5 separate regions of the Homo sapiens genome follow, and regions 1, 3, 4 and 5 are each linked to region 2. The links are contacts of gene promoters, found by promoter capture Hi-C in blood cells and fetal thymus (Javierre and others, 2016). All regions are on one chromosome and are shown on one strand. The core of a region is centred on a gene start or on the middle of the fragment in contact, and the rest is flanking DNA. Distances in the headings are between cores, read along the strand shown.

Region 1 (2,706 bases), core at 173-2,672, 230 kb before region 2:
AGTGCCGTGGCTCACGCCTGTATTCCCAGCACTTTGGGAGACTGAGGTGGGCGAATCACTTAAGGTCAGGAGTTCAAGACCAGCCTGTCCAACATGGTGAAACCCCATCTCTACTAAAAATACAAAAATTAGCTGGGCATGGTGGCACGTGTTTGTAGTCTCAGCTACTCGGGAGGTTGAGGCAGGAGAATCGCTTGAACCCAGGAGGCGGAGGTTGCAATGAGCCAAGATCGCGCCATTGCACTCCAGCCTGTGCCAATAGAGCAAAACTCCATCTCAGTTTAAAAAAAATTAAATAAATAAATTACTTCTGTAAGTCAAAAATGGTTGAAGGGCTGCAATTTCATGTTAGAAGTCAGGAAATGGGAGGGGCTATTGATGAAGCAAAACTGGCCAGGAGCTGATTAAGGTTAAAATTAATCTGAATGATGGCCTATGGGGTAAATTTTACTCAACTGTCTCCTTCCTATGTGCATAAAATCTTTCCACAATGAAAAGTTAAAACAAAATTAGGCCTTTAATACAGTACAATATTTAAATTTAGTTAAAAATAAAAACTAGTAAAAGTGAAACTGAAAGCATCACTGCAAAAACACCCTCCGCCTAAATTTCTTCATCTGCAAAGGGAGGCCAGGGAGCTCGACAATCTCTCTGAGATCCCTGGGTCTGTGACCGCAGTGTATGCTCTCTGCTCAGCCACTGAAGCTCGTCCCCAGTTTTGCAGGGCATATTCGGCTCTTCTCTTACTATTTAACAAGGGCCACCTAATCTATGCATAAAGATCCTCAGACTGTAGGGGAGTTCAGACGACACAGCCTAGTGAGAAGCTGACACACACATGCACATCCCATGGAAAACCCTTGTGGGGTGTGAGAGATGATTCTACAGTGGACAGAAGGCAGCCATTGAGAGCTGTTCTGATAGAGTGCTGACATTGACCACTCTGTCCCCCACCAAAGGGCCTGTGACGGAATGTCTGTAACATAGAGTTCATACATTGTATAGAGGTCTATAACATTTAATACATATTAAAGTATACTTAATAGCCTGAAAATATACTTAATAGTATGAGAATAAGCTGTTGTGGAGTTTAGCTGGCACAAAATGACCACTGGCAACGGCTGTGGTGGCCAGATGGAGGCCTCAGCCTGCCGAGCACAGTGAGAATCTGTGACTTCATTCATAAATTTCCCAGAGAAACGGGATGAGGCAGGGCCCTGTGTACCTCCATGTCTGCAAGTGGATACATGCTGAAGAGCAAACATGTAAAGCACAGAAGACACAAGCAAAGGAAGAAAGAGGACACACTGAGGTCCTGTGACTCATCTTTACAAGGCAGAATATGAGTCATTAATAGGATCCCAACTTTGGCTTTCTCTCTGAATCACCCAAGATTACCTTGATGTGCTTAACTTTGTCTTCTTTTTCTGTCTTTGGTTTCTTTCCTGTGGCAACAAAAATGTAGTTTTGGATTAATTCACGAAGGGCCTCCAGAGAAACATTTCCCTCAAATTAAATTCTTTCTGAAACTCTCAATGAACCTGTTGCTTTAATCTGTACATGGTCAAAATTCCACATGTATCTTTCACTGCCTCTGGTGAATCGAAAGTCTTGTTTCCAAGCCAGGTAGGGGCGGAATGATCCCCTACAGCATGAACAGGCTATTCTACCTGCAAACTGACTGCAGATGTAGAAATGAAGAGATCACGAAGGCACGATGACACAAATTGATTTACCTTATTTTAGTCTGTAAATGCCTTTACCTTTCTTAGAAGGCCGTTCTGATAGGGGCAGCATTCGGTAGACCCTGAAGGCATTATTTCCTTTCTTTATGCTTTTATCCTTGACTTCTTCAATATCAGGCAAGGAATTCATGGCGCATCTGAAATTCGCCTTCCATGTTTTGGGATCAGGTTTATCTACTCCTGGTTGATGCTTTCCTAACAAAAGAGACAAAGATTAAGAAAAAGAGAGAAAACATTAGATACAGAGGAAGGAATTTCTGGAAACACAGTATTGCTGGTCAGGCAGTATAAGGAAACCTTTTCACTCCATGCTATACCTCCAGTGACCAATCGTCCTGGTGTACCTGGGGGTGAGAAAGTTCTTGGGATGTGGGAATTTTGTTTTTAAAACCTGAACAGTTCCAGTCAAACTGGGACAAGTTGGTCACCCTGGTTCTACTGAACAGCTTGAGGAAACTATAAATGCTGGAAGAATGGAGCATCAGCGTAAGAAAAATATAGAAGACTGAGAGGCTGCAAAGTCAACAGGCAGAGGGAAGCTGAGTGCCTCTTTTTCATCTGACGCTCCAACAAAGTCCATTCCTGTAAACAGCTCCCTACGTAAAGGTTGTAATAAATACAGGTATTTCTGACTACCTTTTTGGGGGGGAGATAAATTTGACCAAAGTTTATAGCATCAGAACAACTGAGTTTCTATTCCCCGGTAACACCTAGGGAACTTCTTAGAATACCACATTTATAGGAAATTGAAGGACTAAGAGTGTATGGGATGAGGGGAGCATTACTTCTGAGGGCTGCAGTTTGTACCCCATGTGTCCTGGATGTGCCTAGGGACAAGTCACAGGTTTTTCAGAGCCATCTTCATGAGGTCATAAGCCAGGCTATTTTATGTGTAATAAAAACAAAACTAAGCAAGAGTGCCTTCCTCTATAAACGCCGCAGGGAGTTTTAGTACCTGTAT
Region 2 (2,700 bases), core at 29-2,528:
GTGCTGGGTTTAACCTAAGGGCAAAGGACGAGCTTTCTAGACTTTCATTTCATAAAGATCCCTCTGCCTGTGCTGTAAAAAGTGGACTGCAAAGGAGCAGGCGGGTCTGGAAGTGGAGAGACCAGGGAAGAGGCTGCTGTGGTCAGACGGCTGAAATCAGAGATAGAGAGACGCGGACAGATCTGGCAGACATTTACAAGGTCGACAAGGCTTGGCGACTAAGCAGGAAAAGAAGTGGGTGGGCGAGAGGGGGCTGCGAACGATGTTTTCCGGTTTCCTGCTTGGGTGCCACTTACTGAGAATGGGGGAAGAGGCAGGTGCAGGGCACACCCACCGAAAACCAGAGCGCCGAGTGTGAGCAGGGCTCGCTAACTCCTCACGGCCTGGGATTTCAAGGCGACGCCAACCAGCTGTGGCCACGGATACACAGCCACAGGTATGAGCTGCGAGCACTCACGAAACTCTGCAGGGCCGAAAAGGAATTGGAGTTTAAACCCTGCAACTATCTCTCTGGAAGAGCTAAACCACATTGTCAACCCGGGATAATCCAGGCCCCAGGCATGGAAGGCAGCAGAGACGGAAGCCTCGTCCAAAATTGGAAGGATCAGCCCCCAGGGCGAGTATCTCACAGTCAGCACCCGGCCGCCCCAGCCCTCGCAGCACCGCTTCCCGGGGCCACTCCTCCGCCGGCGGTAGCGCCGTCCGTTTCCCAGCTTGCCGCTGCCTTCCGCCGCCTGACCCGGCCTTCCGGCACTCGGCCGGCCGCCAGGTCTCCCGCCCTCGGAGCTCGGTGCCCCGTGCCCGACCTCCCGGCCCCGGGCTCGGTTCCCCTGGCCAGGCCTCCCGCTGCCTGGCCTCCCCGGCCCGGCCTCGCGCTGCCCGGCCTCCCCGGTCCCAGCCCAGCCTCCCGCCCCCGGGCCAGGTCTCCCCTCCGATGACCTGAGGCCTTTCCTTAGGTTACCCCCAGGTCCCTCTCCCTAAATCAAAAGCCTTAACCCGCTGCCTGGCTTCCCCGGCCCCGGCCCAGGCTCCCGCCTCCGGGCCAAGTCTCTCGCTCCGCGGGCTTCACTGCTCGCCCCCGCCCGGGCGAGGTGGCAAAACAAACACTCCGCCTTCCAGACCGGGCAGGTACCCGGGCGGGCGCAGGGCCTGGGAGAACGCAGGGAGCGGGGGCAGGGCTGACGGCCCGGAGCGAGGGCGGCAGTCACCGCACAGCCTCCTCATACCTTCTACAACCGCCTCACAATAGCACCCATCCGCTAGGAGCCGCGTCTGCACTGCTTCCGCGGCCCGCCGCCGGGAGATGTGCTCCAGCGCCAGCCCCGCCTCCCGCCCGCCCCTGTCGGCCCCTCGCGCCGCCTCCGCTGCGGCCCGTCCCCTAGCTCCCGCCCGCCCGAGAACCCAGCCCCAGGCTGGGCCCCAGGAGGCGCCCGCCCACCGCAGCGCGCCCCGCCCCCGCGCCCCGCGTCCTCACGCCCTGGTCCCGCCCTCGCGTCCCGCGCCAGTCCTCCCGCTTTGGTCCCGCCCTGAGGCTCGGCCCGGCTCCCCCGCCCCGGATTTGAAATCTAGGTCTTCCTGAGAGTCCGCGGGCTTCCGCTCCCAGCGCGGGATTCTGGAGGGAAATTGAGGGAGACTTGGAAACCGCGCCAGGCCCAACGGGTACCTAGAAGGGAGACAAAGCCAGGCCTGCTGCCCAGTTTGAGCTCTGGGAAGAAGAGGAGCAGGCCGGGACGCCCACCGGTAATTTCTGTCTCCTCTGCGATGACCTGAGGCCTTTCTTTGGGTTACCCTCAGGTCTCTCTCCCTAAATCAAAAGCCTTAACCTCCTGTCATCAGGGTGCCAGGCTAGAAATAACCAGGTCCACGCATGCTGTGTTTTCCACCATGTCAGGCTGCTGTGGACGCTCTTTCGATCACAAAAGCCACGAGCTGCGTGGAGTTCCCAAGGAGGCAGTTCTCAGCACTTGCTGGTCACTGGGTAGTCAGAGCCTGACACACAGGCTCAAGCCGCTCACGCATCATAGTAGTGTACTTAATCCACATATAAATGTTACAAGTTAAGCATCCCACAACAAAGTAGCATTTAACATCATGAGGAAAAAGAGATGGGGCAAAGAGATTAACGAACCAATCCAGAGGGAGTGAAGAAGAGGAAAAGAAGCCTGGTTTGGGCCGAGAGGTCCTTCTGCAAAGACGGCGTCAATTAAGCCGGCTGTTGGGAGCTGCCGAAGGCCCCATCTTTTATAGTCACAGAGTCCTGTGGTGAGAACTGGTAATGGAAGAGAGTGCTTGTTTGTGTCCTTACCTGGCTGGATGCGGACTATTTTTTTATTTGTTTATTAAAGTATAGTATGCTTGTTGGCAAATGCCTTATGAAATGTAAAAATGGGGTCTTCTCCTAAGATGGAGTTATTAATGGTTACGTCAATGGTGTGCTATATACACTGCCCTACCGATCCCCTTCCTATTTTGGGTCGTGAACTCATTTCAGACCCTGAAGCAAACTGTGAATCATTTTCGCAGAAGAATTCACCAACACATGTGAGCACGACATTCTGCATCAGATTTCAAAAAGTTCTTGACATTCAGAAGTCAGATTCAGGGACCCCATGGCAGAGCCTGTTTCTAACACTTGCGCCTATTCGACTATAGGGACTATATTCTGCACAGAAATATACTTAGTTTTATATATGGTTACCC
Region 3 (2,700 bases), core at 1-2,500, 190 kb before region 2:
CATTTTTTTAAAGAGCATTTTCTAGAAAAATTTATGCAAGGCCATTAAGACCTAAAAGGGTAGACTGACTTTTAAAAGTATTTTATAAATTGAAACTCATGCTGGGACCCTTAGGTGTGTTTGGCCCTGGGTCGCAGCATCTAGATGGCATCAGCCTCTGCAATTCAGCAAAGCAAGAATCATGCACAGATTTCAAAGCATATGGACTCGAGCACATACTGCATTTTCAAAGCTTCTTTCCATATGGAAAACGGGAAAAGAAGTGATCCTATATTTCCCTTAATCAGCACGTCCTCTGAGCACTGCCTTTGCAGTACAGGAGAAGTAACATGACCTCGAGAAGGCACAGCTCCTCCTCCTCAGAGTGCAGTAGGAAGTTCCTTTAAGACTGTGTCAGCCTGCAGTATGCAAGCCGGAAAAGACCTCTCAGTCCTCTGATGCAGACACTGGAGACGTAACAGTATAGAGAACAAGTTCAATAAGAGGAGGCACGTGGGAAAAGGGTAGACATCAGAGTGGATAACTGAGCCATGCTGGCTTGAGGAGGAGGAGCGTGGCAGAAACGGCAGGACCTGAATTACCTGAGCTGTTTGTGTCACCCAGTCACCTTTGACTTCATTTTTGAGCTCCACAGACCTCAAAAGGTGTGTTTTGCCCCTTCAGGAACACAGAAAAGACAAGGGGACAAGAGAGAGGAGATGTCAATGTGGTCAGTATTTGTGAAAAGTCAAATAACAGAAACTCAAAGAGCCAGCATACTGGAACTGGAACCTAAGAAAACCTATTTGCATAGAGCAACAAAATTGCTGCTTTCTGACTTCAATCACATCACTAGCAGACTACCTTGAAAACCAACGCCTTCCCAAAAACCAGTTGCCTGAAAATAACCTGTTCTGAAAGGTTGATTTGAAGGGCACTATCTTTTCCCCTGGATGAGAGTAAATGATTTCCTCCCACACTCCACATCCACAGGCTGGCCCTCAGGATCTGCTTCTTGCTGCCACTTTTCCTTTGAGGATTTCCTTTAAGCTGTCCCCTCTGCCAGGGAGCTCTCCATAAAGGTTACCAGCTATTCTTGGTGTTATTATTATTAATTATTATGGAGACATCCAATTTAACTCTTTATGTTCAAATCTGGTCAAGCTCCAGCACACAAACTATAAACTTACGCACTACAGTTTCCGCTAGTTTGATTCTATTCCTGGGATAAACCATCCCAATTACCAATGAATTCCAACTGGAAAAAGAGCCAAAATTGCTACCACTCTAAGTACAGGAATACCTCCGAAGCAAGAATCCATGTCTCCTCTGCAAGCTGCAGAACTGTCTTCAAATATTTTTGGAAGATACCTACTGCCTCTCACCAGTTTCCGAATGGTAGCCAGAGGTGGGAGGGTCGGATCTGGCATCCATTGGATGGTCACTATTTCCCCTCTCTGCCAACCCCTCCCAGGACCACAATGATTTCTTTTCTTTCCCTCTCCTTGTTAAAGCATAATATGGTAGTGGGAGCTCAGATTTGGCGTCAAGCACACCTGAACTGGAACCTCACCACTCACAACCTTCAACTTCGCCAAGCCATAGTTTCCTCATCACTAAACAGAGATCTTAATAGCAACTTAGCAGAGCTACCGTGAGAAGAAACAGATAAAGGCTAGTTTATGTTAGGAGGAAAAGTATGAGGTGAGATTTCCTTGGTCTCCCCTAAGACTTCCCCAAAGAAATTCCAAACAGTAGGGCCCGTGCTCCACCTAACTGCAGTGACTAAGTCAGTGTTCCACAAGGAGCAAGACGATGTCCAGGGTCCACCTTCTGTAATAGAAGCATATTCTCCACCCTGCACATTCTTGGCCAGATTAATCTCCCCAAATGGCTCCTGACCTTGCAGAAAATCCTTCCATGGTTCCACAACGCCCATTGAATAAAATCTGGACTCCTGGCCACCATAATTCATCCCCATCCCACCTTTCTAACCTCTTGTTCCCACTGATTCCCTCCACCTTCTTCTTCTAACCTCTTATCCCACTGATTCCTTTCTTCTTCCTCCCCTCCCCTCCCCCTTCCCTCCCTCTCCCTCCCCTCCCCCTCCCTTCCTTCTTCTTCTTTTTTTTTTTTTTTTTTTTTTTGTAGAGAAAGGCGTCTCCCCATGTTGCCCAGGCTGGTCTCAACCTCCTGGCCTCAAGTGATCCTCCCATCTCAGCCTCCCAAAGCGCTGGGATTACAGGCATGAGCCACCGCACTCAGCCTCCTTCCACCTTCTGATGCAACCAAAGCTTACAGCTTCAGGTACTTGGCAACGGGCTTATCTCTGTATAAAGTCCTGTGAGGAGGAGTCCCATCTCACTCATCCCAAAATACCGAGCACAGTAGCTTGCACATAATGACATGTAGTAATCACTCATTGATAAGAAAGTGGATGAATCCCTCCTGGAAAACTCACTGAGGGCAAGGGCTGAGGAGGATAAGGCGGATGATATTAACTATACGTTGTGATGGATAAACTTATGAACAAATGATAAGCAAAGGAAATAAAATGACTACAAAAAGCATGCAACCTAAAAAAAAATTTTACTATTTACATGCCATTTTCCGGGTGAATCCGGCTAAGGATGTTAATACACTTTTGAATTACGTTGGTTCAACTTTTCATTCCAAAAACCTTACCCCGAGCCAACCGCATGAAAATCGCTGTGTGCCAAG
Region 4 (2,700 bases), core at 16-2,515, 210 kb before region 2:
AGTTTGCCATTTGACACAGGTTTCTCACGACTAGCCGAGGGTGAGCGTACATCTTTACTTCTGTGAAAAACAGCAAAGGCAGAATCTACCTCAAGCCTAGCACCAGAAACGGATCATTTAGTTGGACACTATAAACAGATTAATTATGTTTCCGGAGATTAAAAGACTGAGATGACAGGCACAGAGGGTCAGAGGACTGAGGACTGGAAAGAAAGATGCTTACTCGGTATGTATCGTCTAGCTTCCATTATCGAAAGTCAAGGTGACACGCTGGTCTTTCTGTAAGGCAAGCCTCCCACAGGCGCTAACAGTCAGGCCACGTGAACCTCGAACAGAGTTAGAGAAGGCAGGTAGCTCAGTGGAGATGACACAGAGCGGCTATGTTTGTCTAAGAACCAAAATGCACAGAAATCAGGACATTGTGTCGCGACCTTGACTCTGCCATTGCTGGTGTGTGTCCTTGGGCTAATCCCTCCATCTTCCCGGCCCACACTTTGATCATCTAGAAAAATGGGACGTTTTAAACAGATGATTCCTGGGGTTATCCATGATACGATGAATCATAATCTGATGTTTTTTTTTCTGTAAGCTTCTCTTCTTGCACATCAGGTTGTTTTTAGAAGTAAAATGCTAAAATTTTATGGTTCTGCAAACCTAATATATGAGCAACCTGTACTTCAAAGTAAGTAAAAGAGTTGAAGCATCTACCCTGGAGCCTGACGAAAGGCACGTTGTAAAATCATCTACCTTTACACCTTTGAGATTTGAGGCTGGGACTGGCTTCAAAACTGTGGCATCTGGCCATAAGTCAATTCAGCCCATGGTGGGTACTGAGAATATCACTGGTGCCAAGCCTGCTATATAAGGCATGCAAGCTATTCATTGTGATTCGTAAGTCACGAATGATCCCCCATGAAGTTGACAGTACTATCCATGATTAGTGCTATTAACAGTGAGGTTGAATTTTCACCCAAATAACTGAATTTTGGTTCTTGGAATAGTAAGAGCAACGGTTACCATTTACAGAGCACCTACTATGTGCTGGGCATTAAAACTAGGGTTTTCTTGCTAGGTGTGGTGGGACACACCTGTCTTTTCAGCTCCTTGGGAGGCTGAGGTGGGACAATCACTTGAAGCCAGGAGTTCGAGGCTGCAGTGAGCCATGATCACACCACTGCATTCCAGCCTGGGTGGCAGAAAGACAGCCCCTCTCTAAAAATAGAAAATAAAAAACCTAGGGTTTTCTACAAGTTTTGCCATTTAACCCTTACAACCCTAGGACATAGGGACTTTATTATCCTTTATTACCTGCTAGTAAGTGGAGAGCCAAGACTCTCATTTAAATTCAGGCCTATCTAACGTGAAACACCCAGGCTTATCCACTCTAACCTCTGCCTTCATCGTACTTTAGAAAGCACTGAGTTATGAAGACCTCTTAATTGTTCTACTTACTGAGACTTTCCAAACTCCTCTCCGTCTTGCAAACCACTGACAGTCATCTTCCTAAAATACCATTTAATCATGTTAATTCTCTGTTCCAGAGACTTCTAAATGTGCCTGCTGGATTTAAGGTAATAAATTCCTTAGCTGAGAGGGGGGTGGTGCTTCTGGTAATGGTACAGTAGGTAATTCAGACCTGACTCCCAGGCTGAATAACTAAGAAACATGGACAAAATATATTTTTAAAATCCATTTAAATGCATCAGAGAGCTAACAAGGTAGTTAAAAATTAGGGGGGCAAGATCTAGGAGAAAAAGAAACCCAGGAAGGTGAACCTGACATTTAGGGCTGCTGTCGTCCTAGCGCAGGGACAGCTGCTCCTTTCTGAAGAGGAGGCTGTGGGGCTTTGAAAGCAGAGCTTTTGACACACTCAGGTGACTGAGGAGACAAAAATTGAACATCAGGATGCAGCTAGGAAAAGGGGTTCCTGGAAACACCCTCACAAGCTTTGTAAGTAATACAACTAAGTAGAAATAAACTAATATCAAAGGCTGAAGCCCAGCTTTGAATCATCTCAATCCCTGATCTAATGAAAATGACCTGGAACTACCAAAAGTAAATAGAAATCAGATCTTGAGGAACATAACATTACCCTAGGATTCATATTATCTCTGGAGCTTTTCTTTTTTCTTTTTCTTTTTCTTTTTTCTTTTTTTTTTTGAGACAGAGTCTCGCTCTGTCGTTGGGCTGGAGTGCAGTGGCTCGAACTCGACTCACTGCAACCTCTGCCTCCCAGGTTCAAGCAATTCTCCTGCCTCAGCCTCCGGAGTAGCTGGGACTACAGGTGCCCACCACCATGCCCAGCTAATTTTTGTATTCTCAGTAGAGACAGGGTTTCATCATGTTGGCCAGGATGATCTCAATCTCTTGACCTCGTGATCCGCCCACTTTGGCCTCCCAAAGTGCTGGGATTACAGGCGTGAGCCACTGCGCCCGGCCATGGAACGCCTTTTCTTATTACCCAGTCACCCAATGGATCAGCAAAAATTCATTAAACACACATTGTTACAAGGAACTGTGCTGAGTGCTGTGGGGGATTCAAAGACGGTAAGACATGATCACTACCCTCAAGGAACAAATAAGTTAACTGAGGATGTGAGAGATAAATCACATAAAGCTAACTAATAATCCTATAATTATAATAATAAAAGACTATGCAATAAAGATCAGAAGGTAGTGTATTATTAATTGCCAACTAAG
Region 5 (2,700 bases), core at 51-2,550, 240 kb after region 2:
TCAGCACTGCTCAGAGTTTCCTGTAACTGCTACCAAAGGCCTTAACCTTGCAGGTTTGGAATCCAGCATCTTAACCTTAATCTTGTACCTATTCATGGTACATACTAATAATTATTCCTTGGGTAATTAGCACCTAATAAAACTTTCTTGAACAAATATAGTTGTGAGACAGAGTAGCAAATGTAAGAAGGTGCATTTTCTCAATTTGCTGGCCAGCATAATTTCACAAAGCCCCTGACACTGTGGCAAGTGTAGCTCTCCGGAGGGATGCTTTGAAGACATGGCAGGGTAGAGCACACGGCTCCCACATCTCTTGCCTGGGTCGCTGTATTCCAGAAAAGGTAAGTGACCCTGGTCTTTGCCCTTTCCTAGACGTAAGACAACATCTGGTGTGGTTAATGATTATGCCTCTGTGACCTATAATCAGATGTACTCTTACATCCTAACCTTGATGTATTTCTGCTTTACTGTAACTTCTGAACAAGTTTGATGTGATTTTGCATAAACTATGAACTAAAACACTGCTTTGGAGGAGTCTGACCTCTCTGAAAGACTCCTCCCAGGCTGTAGTTCTCAGTCCGTAGTCCTGAGTCAGACTTCTGAATAAAACTAACTTTAATTCTTTAAAAGCTCGATTTTCTTTTCTTCAGTCAACATAATACCAGAGCCCCAACACTTCCTTTGAACTAAGCAGAAGCATGATTTGATCAGAAAGAACTTTTGAAAGGTACTTACTCCAACTTTCTTGCAACACACAATCTTCTCAATAAATATTTATTGAATAAATGAACATCTCAGTACATTTGTGAATAAATAGGACACAGAAGTTTTTCCTACCAAATACATAAAGTTTCAGAGCGTGCACTGACACTTTGCATAATGGGGTACCTCATACATTTGGAAGCAGCCAACCCTGCTGCTGCACCTTTTTATTCTTTCAGGCTCTTTCTTAGGTTGGGCCAGCATGTTCTTGCTGATGAATGGCTTTTGAGGACACCTGCTCCTTCTTCTCTAGTAAAGCACTTCAGATATAGAGAGACAGTTGCCGTAGCCCCGTCTCCTCTTTTCCAAACCAGGATCTTGCTCTTGACTCATGATGTGTTGCAGCCCTTCATTTCCTGGCGGATGATATCCCTATCCATATATGGTCCTCAGAGGCAAACACAACTCCAGTGAGTTCTGCCCAGCACAAAGCCCATGGTGTCATTCGTGATCTTAAGTAGCTACCATGTTCATGGACAGGCAGCCTATGATTCTGATAGTTTTTTTAGTAACCAACATTATACAGTTGGCACACAAAAGTAATCAGTCAACTCCAACATCTTTTTAAAAAATCAACTTTTCTCCCTTGATTAAAAAGCAATACATTGTGACTATTGAAGGCTTCGTGGAAAATACAGTGAAAGTAAGGTCACTTATTATCAATCTGTTTGCTAATCCTGAGTTAATCACAGTTAACAGTTTCTTATATTTTCCTACCATCTTTTTCTGCGTATGTATTTTCATATACTTAGTATCCTAAAGTGTATGCCACTTCGCATCTTGGTTTTGTTTTGCCTTTACTACCTTCTAAAATGATTTTCACATAGATTGGCCCCACACTCAGTCAGAATCTCTGGGAAAGGATCCTAGTCATGTGATTTTTCTTTTTTCTTTAATTTTTTTTTAAATTCCCGGGGAAATTAAACTAAATTAGAAGGCATGAATATTTTTAAAATATGTTTCCCTGTTGATTCTAGTGCACATCCAGGGGCGAAAATCATTAACAGAATCTTACGGGCATTTATTTGGTTTTGTTTATCATCTATTTAGTTAGCATTTGCTATTTGGTTGTAAGTATTTTTCCCGCATTTGCAGATCTGATCAGCATGCTTTCTGTGCATTACTCATTAAGTTGTCAGTTTGACCATGGCCAAAAACAGAGACCTAATGATCTCGCTCTGGCTAGCACACTGATATTAATCAACTCTGAGGAAATACTCATTCAGCAAGCTATGTTCTTAATTAGTTTTTCACCTCCCTCCTACAACAAGATCATGTGCAACTCTATAATATAGTATTTTCTACAGAAAAAAAGGAGTTAGTTGAATATGACTTGACCATGATCATTTCAGTGCCTGGACAGTCAGCAGAATGCTAGCCTCTCTCTCTTGCTCTAAGAGAGTAAATGTGGGATTAGACACAGGTGAGCTATTGCTAGAAGAACCAGCCACCAAGCTCCTGAGGGACAGTGGGGTTGGTCACCAGCCTCAGTCCACACCTGCCTAATCAAGCTGGGTATTCATTCCTCGACTCAGCCAAGAATATCTGAATAGCCAAGAAAGAGGAAAGGGGTGGTGGATGTAAATTATAGGAGAATAATTCTCTGCAATTCTTTCAATGCACTTGCAAAGATACAATTTCATTTACTTCTTATTCCTCTCTGGGATGTGTATTCCCCATGTTATAGATGAGGACATTGCCCAGAGCAGTGGGATAGCAGAGTCAACCAGGTTTTCTGACTGCAAGACTAGTATTCCTCCCCTCTCTATCTTGCCTCCCATACAAGTCTCAATCTCCCTCTTCCCTCCACGAGTCTAGTGGCAACTGCCTTACTGACTGAATTGCACATTGTACTCCCTACCTGACTTTTCAATAGGATGACTTATGTAACACCTTTTAAAAGCCCATTTTTTCCTGGTATTTATGAAGAACTGGGAG

What was found. Contacts are between HindIII fragments. The CHiCAGO score rates a contact against its expected background, and 5 or more counts as called.
Region 1: a contact is called between a fragment that was not itself captured here and the fragment with the promoter of CASP3 in region 2, in 6 of 17 cell types (naive CD4 T cells, activated CD4 T cells, naive CD8 T cells and 3 more). The highest score is 8.9, in naive CD4 T cells.
Region 3: a fragment that was not itself captured here is called in contact with the fragment with the promoter of CASP3 in region 2 in 2 of 17 cell types (naive CD4 T cells and total CD8 T cells); the score reaches 6.5 in naive CD4 T cells.
Region 4: a fragment that was not itself captured here is called in contact with the fragment with the promoter of CASP3 in region 2 in 2 of 17 cell types (naive CD4 T cells and activated CD4 T cells); the score reaches 5.6 in naive CD4 T cells.
Region 5: a contact is called between a fragment that was not itself captured here and the fragment with the promoter of CASP3 in region 2, in 1 of 17 cell types (neutrophils). The highest score is 5.6, in neutrophils.

What each region holds. Positions count from the first base shown.
Region 1 is chr4:184,416,769-184,419,474 of GRCh38, forward strand. It overlaps IRF2 (interferon regulatory factor 2), which reads right to left. Exons shown (of 9, transcript NM_002199.4): 3 at 2,701-2,706; 4 at 1,764-1,940; 5 at 1,399-1,445. Among named protein-coding and RNA genes, the nearest start is that of LINC02362, 36 kb to the left of the region's middle. RefSeq lists enhancers at 715-884, 1,075-1,374, 1,253-2,452. The HindIII fragment of the contact is 6,751 bases long and covers 1-2,706 here.
Region 2 is chr4:184,648,169-184,650,868 of GRCh38, forward strand. CASP3 (caspase 3) reads right to left here and starts at 1,279. Exons shown (of 8, transcript NM_004346.4): 1 at 1,227-1,279; 2 at 297-463. PRIMPOL (primase and DNA directed polymerase) reads left to right here and starts at 1,570. Exons shown (of 14, transcript NM_152683.4): 1 at 1,570-1,740. RefSeq lists silencers at 787-996, 1,007-1,586. The HindIII fragment of the contact is 9,772 bases long and covers 1-2,700 here.
Region 3 is chr4:184,453,199-184,455,898 of GRCh38, forward strand. The region is part of intron 1 of IRF2 (interferon regulatory factor 2); the gene reads right to left. Among named protein-coding and RNA genes, the nearest start is that of IRF2, 20 kb to the right of the region's middle. RefSeq lists an enhancer at 308-367. The HindIII fragment of the contact is 2,041 bases long and covers 231-2,271 here.
Region 4 is chr4:184,433,836-184,436,535 of GRCh38, forward strand. All of the region lies in intron 1 of IRF2 (interferon regulatory factor 2), which reads right to left. Among named protein-coding and RNA genes, the nearest start is that of IRF2, 39 kb to the right of the region's middle. The HindIII fragment of the contact is 1,357 bases long and covers 588-1,944 here.
Region 5 is chr4:184,884,675-184,887,374 of GRCh38, forward strand. No RefSeq gene overlaps it. Among named protein-coding and RNA genes, the nearest start is that of LINC01093, 13 kb to the right of the region's middle. The HindIII fragment of the contact is 5,089 bases long and covers 1-2,700 here.